2 separate regions of the Homo sapiens genome follow, and region 2 is linked to region 1. The links are contacts of gene promoters, found by promoter capture Hi-C in human tissues and cell types (Jung and others, 2019). All regions are on one chromosome and are shown on one strand. The core of a region is centred on a gene start or on the middle of the fragment in contact, and the rest is flanking DNA. Distances in the headings are between cores, read along the strand shown. Region 1 holds the start of COLCA1 (colorectal cancer associated 1). Region 2 overlaps RDX (radixin).

Region 1 (3,795 bases), core at 188-2,687:
GAGTTTTCTTCACATGAAACACAACTGGAAAATTCTCCCCGTTGCAAATAATTGGGCGTGGAAGAAATTGGTTCAGGCTCAAAATACAGTCCTAGAGGAGAAAGGAAAAAGGCAGGTTTTTGCATAAAAATTGCAAAACACAGATTTGAATGGAGATCTATACTCTGAATATTTACTATGTCTAGGGGGAAAGGGGGCTTAACAAATCCAGAAAAGTAAACGGGAATGCAATTTTGACTCTTTAGTTGTCCTAGCTAATTCAAGCTCCAGGGAAATGAACATGGTTAATAATGTGGAAACTGGCTGTAAAACTGGTTAGGGCAAAAATAAAAGGATGGTGACCCAATTTGTGTCCAAGTGTCACAGTCAAATAATGGCTCAAACTTCCCCTTTCTTGGGCTGTAAAACCATGGACATCCAGCCCCTACCGGCAGTTCACGTAAACCTCTCAGAAGTAACTGACAAAGTTGTTGAGGCTTTGAGAAAACTTCTGATGCTACGGGAAATAATTCTTTTGACTTATGGTGATTGCTTTTTTGAACTTTTCACTCTTACTCAGTAACTTAAGTTTGGAGGAGAGAATTTTGAGAAGTGATTTAAATGAGAATGCAAATGATAATCATGGAAACCAGGAACATAGAGTACCAATTAACACTATTGGCTCGGAAGTACAAAAAGCAAAAATGTTTTCTCAGTGAACATGTTAACATCATGATGTGATCAAAGTAAGTTGTTAAACATCAAACAAAGATAATCAGTAAACATTACTCCTTTTCCATTTTATTATTAATAGGCCCAATTTGTGATAATTATCTGTAAATGCTGGAAGAAGAGAGGATTAGAGTGTGCTCATCAAAGGGACTAAAGGACACTGTGTTCTTCTTGAGGTCTCAAGTTCCTTTAAGGTGAAGCTACGGTGACACATTTAGTGGGGAGAGGCCATAGGCAGAGGTTTCCTTATATACGACCTCCTTAAACTCTTAGCTGTTGAGTAGCAGAGGTAGGAGTGTTTATGTAATCGAGTTATTCTTATTGGGCTGAGAAAACCTACACTTGTTTGAACTGCTTTCTGGGAACAGAGAAGGGGAGGGAAGCCCCTGTCGGCTGGAAACTAAAGGAACAGAGCAAAGGCATTATTTGAGTGTCTTGGGATGTTCTGTATTCCATCTAACAGTGCACTAAAAAAAGATAAGTTCCTGAGAACAATTCTGATTTTGTAGTTCAGTTTAGTTACTTGGCGATGAGGAACTGGAATAAATGTGAAGAACAAACTCTTGAGACAATATAGCAGAGAGTAGAGAATTCAGAAATGAAGACAACATTTATGCTTGTTTTCTTGCTGGGCTTGCATGTGGAGTGACTATGCCTTTTTCACCTTCTGATTGGTTGGATTCCAATTAAATGGTGGTGCCTATCTTAACCCCTGAATCAAGACTGAAAGACTTTTGAGATGGACTTTTGAAAGAGTGTTTGAGGGAACTGTTAATGCTGGCTGTACTGACCTGCAGAAGATGGTGCAACTGGGTCTGAAAGGTGGACACTGCTGCCTCCGGACCGCTGTCAAAGCAAGAATATCACCGTGAAGCAGGCTGAAAGAAATGCTCTGAAGGGAAAGCTAAGACATTTTGATGAGGACTATGTTTCTTTCTGCTATAAGGTAAGCCAGATTCTTCCTTCTCAGAAAAAGTTGCTTTCTTTTTTTTTTTCAATGTTTGACAAATTTTTGTACAAAATATATTGTAAAAAACAAGTGAAAGGGAAAGTGTCAACAAATATTTTATAGAATTTGAAAGACAGGTGCATAGAATTGCGGTAGGTGTATTAAGTCCGTGTAGAATTTAAAATGCCTTTTGACGTTTATAATCCTTTTAAGATTCAATCTGGAAAATTGCATTGGAACAATGAAAACCTGAAATCGAATCATAAAACAGACTTCTTAAATACAACCAATATTATGTTTTATCTAGATCCAATATTTATGTTTGCTTGCTTGGGGAGTTTTTTTCCTAATATCAGATTCTTCTACTTAAATTTTAAAAGTGATTAATTTTTAGTAAAAAATTAATGTAAATAATTTTATGTGGTAAAAATGTAACAGTTTGAGAAAATGCAGCAAAAGGCTTCCTATTAAACTATTCGATTTAAAATTATTAAGGACTAACATTTATTTAATCTCAACTATCTATGGCTTAGTCAATTATTTTTCTCAAAAATTTCATATACCATCTGGCTACTTAGCCTTAGGGAGTCGTTTCCCCAAAGAACACAATTCTTAATTTTGTTAATTCTGAGTAGCTAAAAATATTCACATGTTCTTAGTATACATGAAATATTAAAATAGAAAATATTTTCTTAAAGCTGTGGTTGGTGAGTTGGAACCTACTTTCATTCTAGTTAATGGTCGGGAATTATTCCAGTACTTTGTATGTTTTGTACTACTATCTATAAAAGTTGCTTTTATTTAAACTACTGTATTTAAATACTTAAAAGTTTATGAGACTGCTCTTTTTAACTATTCAAAGTAAAGCAGCCTGCATTTTTCAGTTGAATTAATAATTATACTGAGTAATTTAGGATTTTTTTTTTTTTTTTAAATTTCAGGTGTGGCTTTAAAGTTTAAAGGTACCCGTATTGCTCTGTGATTCTGTGCTGGGAAGCCGAGCTCACCACACCTCTTTTGGGTTACAGGGCATACTCACTCCCATACTCTGAGCCACAGGGAGAGCTGTGCAGGCAGCCACTGCTGAAACAGGAGGCAGTATTAATTTTGAAAACGATCCATGCTGTAATGTCATGAACCAGGAAGCTGGAATCCTTTACCAGCTCTTTATGCAAATATTTGGCTGCAGCTTGAGCTGAAGGACTTGGAAGGAGTGGGTATTAAAAAATCTGCCTCATTGTAGAGCTTTCCTTAACTCCATTCCTCCCCCGGATTGGCCTGTTTGTCTGCCTCCACCCCATGTTATCTCCCTGAGGTGTGTTTACAATATCCTACTTGATATTATCTTTCTAGTCATGGGTTCACTTTCTACTTTGCTCCAAGAATACAAAGAAAGGCAACTCTCTCTTAGATTTCAAACAGCACAAAAATTCACAGTCTACAATTTATAAAAACACATCAAGGCTGTTTAAAAAATTAATGATTTAAAAAAAGAAAGGTAAATGATATCTTTTGATAACGACTAACTCAAGTTTCCTTTTACCCCAAAGGCAAGTGTGTGTGTGTCTGTGTGTGTGCGTGCATGCGCATGTTTGCAAATTGATCTGGCTGAAATAAGTTTTTTAAAATCGAGTGTTCCAATCCGGCATACACACAGTTTCTTCCGGCACTGCTTGAAGAATATTTGAATTCTTTACTGAATGTCTGTCTCAACCTATAACTTCCATTCGTGATTGCCTTCTTAAAATTTTAAATTGTGGATACTACACTGACTTTATAACAAATTAAGATAGATTTCTTGCCACTTTGTAGTATTTGATATAATTAACCCTCTCCTTGGCTTAAAGTTTCCCAGAGGCATCCTTCAACAAATGAACAAACTGGGGATCATCTCTGTTATACCAGAAAGGTCTACACTAAGAAGCAGGCAACATCATCCCCTGGTGTCTGCTACCCTTGCCTACTAAGTACGCTCTCACAGCTTCTTTAGAATCCCAGATCCATCCGATGGCTTCCAGTGAGGGATTTTACGTCTGGCTTTTGTAATTAAATTATATGCGTGTTAAACCTGCTTGCTTGCGAGGGCATAGGCTGATGCAGTCTTAAGGGAAGCAAAGTAGAGCAGGCTTTACTCT
Region 2 (3,727 bases), core at 1,072-3,571, 1.0 Mb after region 1:
ATACCATATTGAGATACCATTTTCTGCTAACTGAATTGTCAGATATTAATAAATCTGATAATGCCCACTGTTCCTGGAAATACAGAAAAGCAAGAATTCTTATACAATGCTGTCAGGAGTATACATTGACACAGTTACATTGTACAATTCAGCATTATGTGGTAAAAGTAGAAGGTGTGCACACTTCATTACTCAAGAATTCTGAGTATATTCTGGAGAAATTCTGACACTCGGAGACATGTACGAGAATGTTCATAGCAGTATTGTTCTTAATAGCCAAAAAATTGGAAACAGTGTTCATTGACAGGAAAATGGGTGAGTAAATGTTTGTTTGGCCACATGCAGAATGTTGCATAGCAGTGAAAGTTCAGTTACAAAAACATCAATGAATCTTAGAAACATATGGTGAAAAATTAAACTAGTATAGTGCAATTTTAAAGAATTTATTGAAGTAGAATATACATACCAAACAGAATATATGAGAAGTGTGTAGTAACAGTAGTCCCAGCCACTCAAGAGGCTGAGGCGGTAGGATCGCTTGAGCCCGGGAGGTTGAGGCTGCGGTGAGCTGGGATTCTGCCACTGTGCTCCAACCTAGGCAACAGGGAAAAAAAAGTGTGTAGTTGATGAATTTTCGTAAAGTGAATATACCCATGTAAGCATTGCCCACATCAAGAAAGAAAACTTGATCAACAAATATCGTGCAGTTATAATACAGCTAAAAATCAAGAAAAATGAAGCTATTTTACAAACAGATACATATATTTACGTTAGAACCATTTTTTTAAAAGCAAGATAATAACAAAATTTAGGTTAGTGATTACCTGTTGGTATTTACAAAGAACAAATAACAGTGGTATATGCAACATTATTTACCATTTCTTGTTATTCAGTTGGATGGTAGATTTATGGGTTTCGTTTTATTATTCTTCATTGTTTATATATGATAGATGTTTTGTATATATCATTTCTTAATAAGATACAGTTTTAGAAAAGAAAAAAATAAGATTATTTTAAAGAAGGATGAATCTGTAAGATCTGATTACAGAAGTTATTCCAGGTGAAAGCTATAATGTGCTGAGGTTGTGATTGTTAGACATATGGGGAAATAAGAAGTCTGATTTAGAGTTTTTATAGTGTGAGTTAAAGTTAGATAAAATGGCACAAGCTGTGTCCTCAGTAAACCTACAGGCTGATGGAAAAAGATACATAAAAACAAATGCAGTAATACGTATTAATATAAAATTTTAAATACAGTTGTTACAGAAACAGTGTTAGTAGGAATCGCTACAGGTTTATACTGGTTAAGGGAAAAGTAAAGATTGTTAGAAAATCGATACAGAAACAGCAAATGAAGTGTGGGAAAATTAAAGGAGAAATAAGTTAATAAAAGATAAAATAATTTAAAAAGCTAAAAAGATATATTTGGATCATGTGAAGAATTCTAGGTGAAGATGCTATTCTGTGGTAAAATTATTTTGGTAAGGCGTGTTAAGTTTTTGAGATATTAGGTATTTACACAATAAAATTATTATTTAAAATAGAGTTTGGAGCTAGGCCTGGCGGCACACGCCTGTGCTCCTAGCTACTTGGTAGATTGAGGTGGGAGTATAGGTTTGCGTCCAGGAGATCAAGGTTGCAGTGTGCCATGATTGCACGCATGAATGGCCAGTGCTCTCCAGCCTGAGCACAACATAGTGAGACCCTGTCTCTAAAAACAACAAAAAATAGAATCTAGCAAATAAAGCACTGTAGATAAATGCTTTCCTAAAGCGAATAATGTATTTACAGTATGAATAAAATGAAATCTGATTTTCATGTTGAAAGAAATATGGGATAGTGAATCACATTCAAAGAATTTGGAGTTAGACCTCAATTTAAATACCTCCTTTGCCTTTTTTGTTTTGCTTTGTTTTTGGAGGCAGGGTCTTGCTCTGTTGTGCAGGCTGAAGTTCAGTAGTACAATCATAGCTCACGGCAGCCCTCAAACTCCTAGGCTCAAGTGATCCTCCCATCTCAGCTTCCTGGAAATAACAGGCACATGCCACCACACCCAACTAATTTTTAAATTTTTCATAGTCTTGCTGTGTTCCCCAGGCTGGTCTCAAACTCCTGACCTCAAGAGATCCTCCCACCTTGGCCTTCCAAAGTGCTGGGACTAAAGATGTGAGGCACCATGTCCAGCTCTTGCTCTGCCTTTTAATATCCACGTGTCCTTAGGTGAATAATGGAAACTCTTTGCGTTTCTGTAGAAATAAAGGTAGTATCTCCTAGTATTATAGCAAGGGCTAAATGAGAGTATGGAAAGCCCATAGCTTAGTGCCCAGTATATGTTAAGTATTCAATAGATGTTCCTAAATGAGGACTTTATAAGCTCTTTGTTTTTCAAATAGATTTAAGATTTCTTGTGATTAAAATAAAACTTTATCACTTTAATAAAGAAAATCATAAAAGTTTTCTCACGCCTAATAACTTCTCTTCTACTTATTATTCCTTTTATTTTTATTACAGATCAACGTAAGAGTAACTACAATGGATGCTGAGCTGGAATTTGCCATTCAGCCCAATACAACTGGCAAACAACTTTTTGACCAGGTATTACACTGCATGAAATATGCAACTTTTGACACCATAGTGTGAATGTTGTTGCATACCTCTTTCTCTGTTTTTCTGTACTTTTGCTGATAATCCAACAGTGTACCACTTGGAATTTTTCATAGTAGCTATTCAGATATCCCTACTACAGCAGTAGGGATATTCTTTATTCTTTCACATTCCTACATTTGTGGGAGAGGACTTCTTGAAAATAATTTTCAGCAGGTATTTATTTAACATTTATGAGAATCATTGTAATGGTGACTAAAAGGGATTCAAGGATAATCCACAAAGTTGTTGAGTGAAATGAGTAGGAATCCTGGGCAGAAGGAACAGCAGGAGTGAAAGGCATAGGGAATTACAGGTTGAGAGCATCTCTTATCCAAAATGCTTGGGACCAGAAGATTTTGGATGTTTTTAGATTTTGGAATATTTGCATATGTATAATGAGATATCTTGGGGATGGGACCCAAGTCTAAACACAAAATTCATTTATGTTTTGTGTACAACTTATACACATAGGCTGAAGGTAATTTTATAAAATCCTTTAAATAATTTTATGCATACTGAGTTTTGACTGCGACCCATCACGTTAGGTTAGGTGTGGAACTTTCCATTTGCAGAGTCATGTTGGTACTGAAGAGGTTTCAGATTTTGCAGCATTTAGGATTTTGGATTTTTGGATTAGGGATGCTCAACCTGTATAGGCTATACAGAGATCCCTAACAACAATTTGGTGTCATAGGTTCATAATGTATGAGGCAAAGGTTGGGATATGGAGGTCAGGTATCCGGTATGTTAAGGAACTGGGACTACTGATCTTATCTTTCTTCTCAGTCTTGAGTGCGTATTAGTCACCTGTGGAGCTTTAAAAAAAGGGAAAGGAGACAGTGCTTGGAAACCCCTTCCAGAGATGCTGATTTAATTGTCTGGGCCTACTCTAAATTATCAGTATTTTAAAATTTAAGCTTCCCAGATAATGTTGTATTGCAATGTAAGCAAGTTTTGCTGAGAAAACGAGGTAAGGGATTGGCCCCAGGGATTAAGTAAGAACATGAAGAAACTGTTGCAAAGACAGAGGAAGGTGGTATATATCATGTGTGGCATGAAACTTAGAGGAGGATAACTTTTA

Evidence for each region. The method cuts DNA at HindIII sites, captures the fragments that hold promoters and counts their contacts. A contact is called where the count stands out against the background at its distance.
Region 2: a contact is called between a fragment that was not itself captured here and the fragment with the promoter of COLCA1 in region 1, in 1 of the 25 tissues and cell types used here (mesendoderm cells).

The regions. Positions count from the first base shown.
Region 1 is chr11:111,302,690-111,306,484 of GRCh38, reverse strand. It overlaps COLCA1 (colorectal cancer associated 1), which reads left to right and starts at 1,437. Exons shown (of 2, transcript NR_169237.1): 1 at 1,437-1,657. POU2AF3 (POU class 2 homeobox associating factor 3) reads right to left here. Exons shown (of 5, transcript NM_001271458.2): 3 at 1,503-1,557; 4 at 1-91. The HindIII fragment of the contact is 15,057 bases long and covers 1-3,795 here.
Region 2 is chr11:110,271,404-110,275,130 of GRCh38, reverse strand. It overlaps RDX (radixin), which reads left to right. Exons shown (of 14, transcript NM_002906.4): 3 at 2,512-2,595. Among named protein-coding and RNA genes, the nearest start is that of RDX, 23 kb to the left of the region's middle. The HindIII fragment of the contact is 6,004 bases long and covers 1-3,727 here.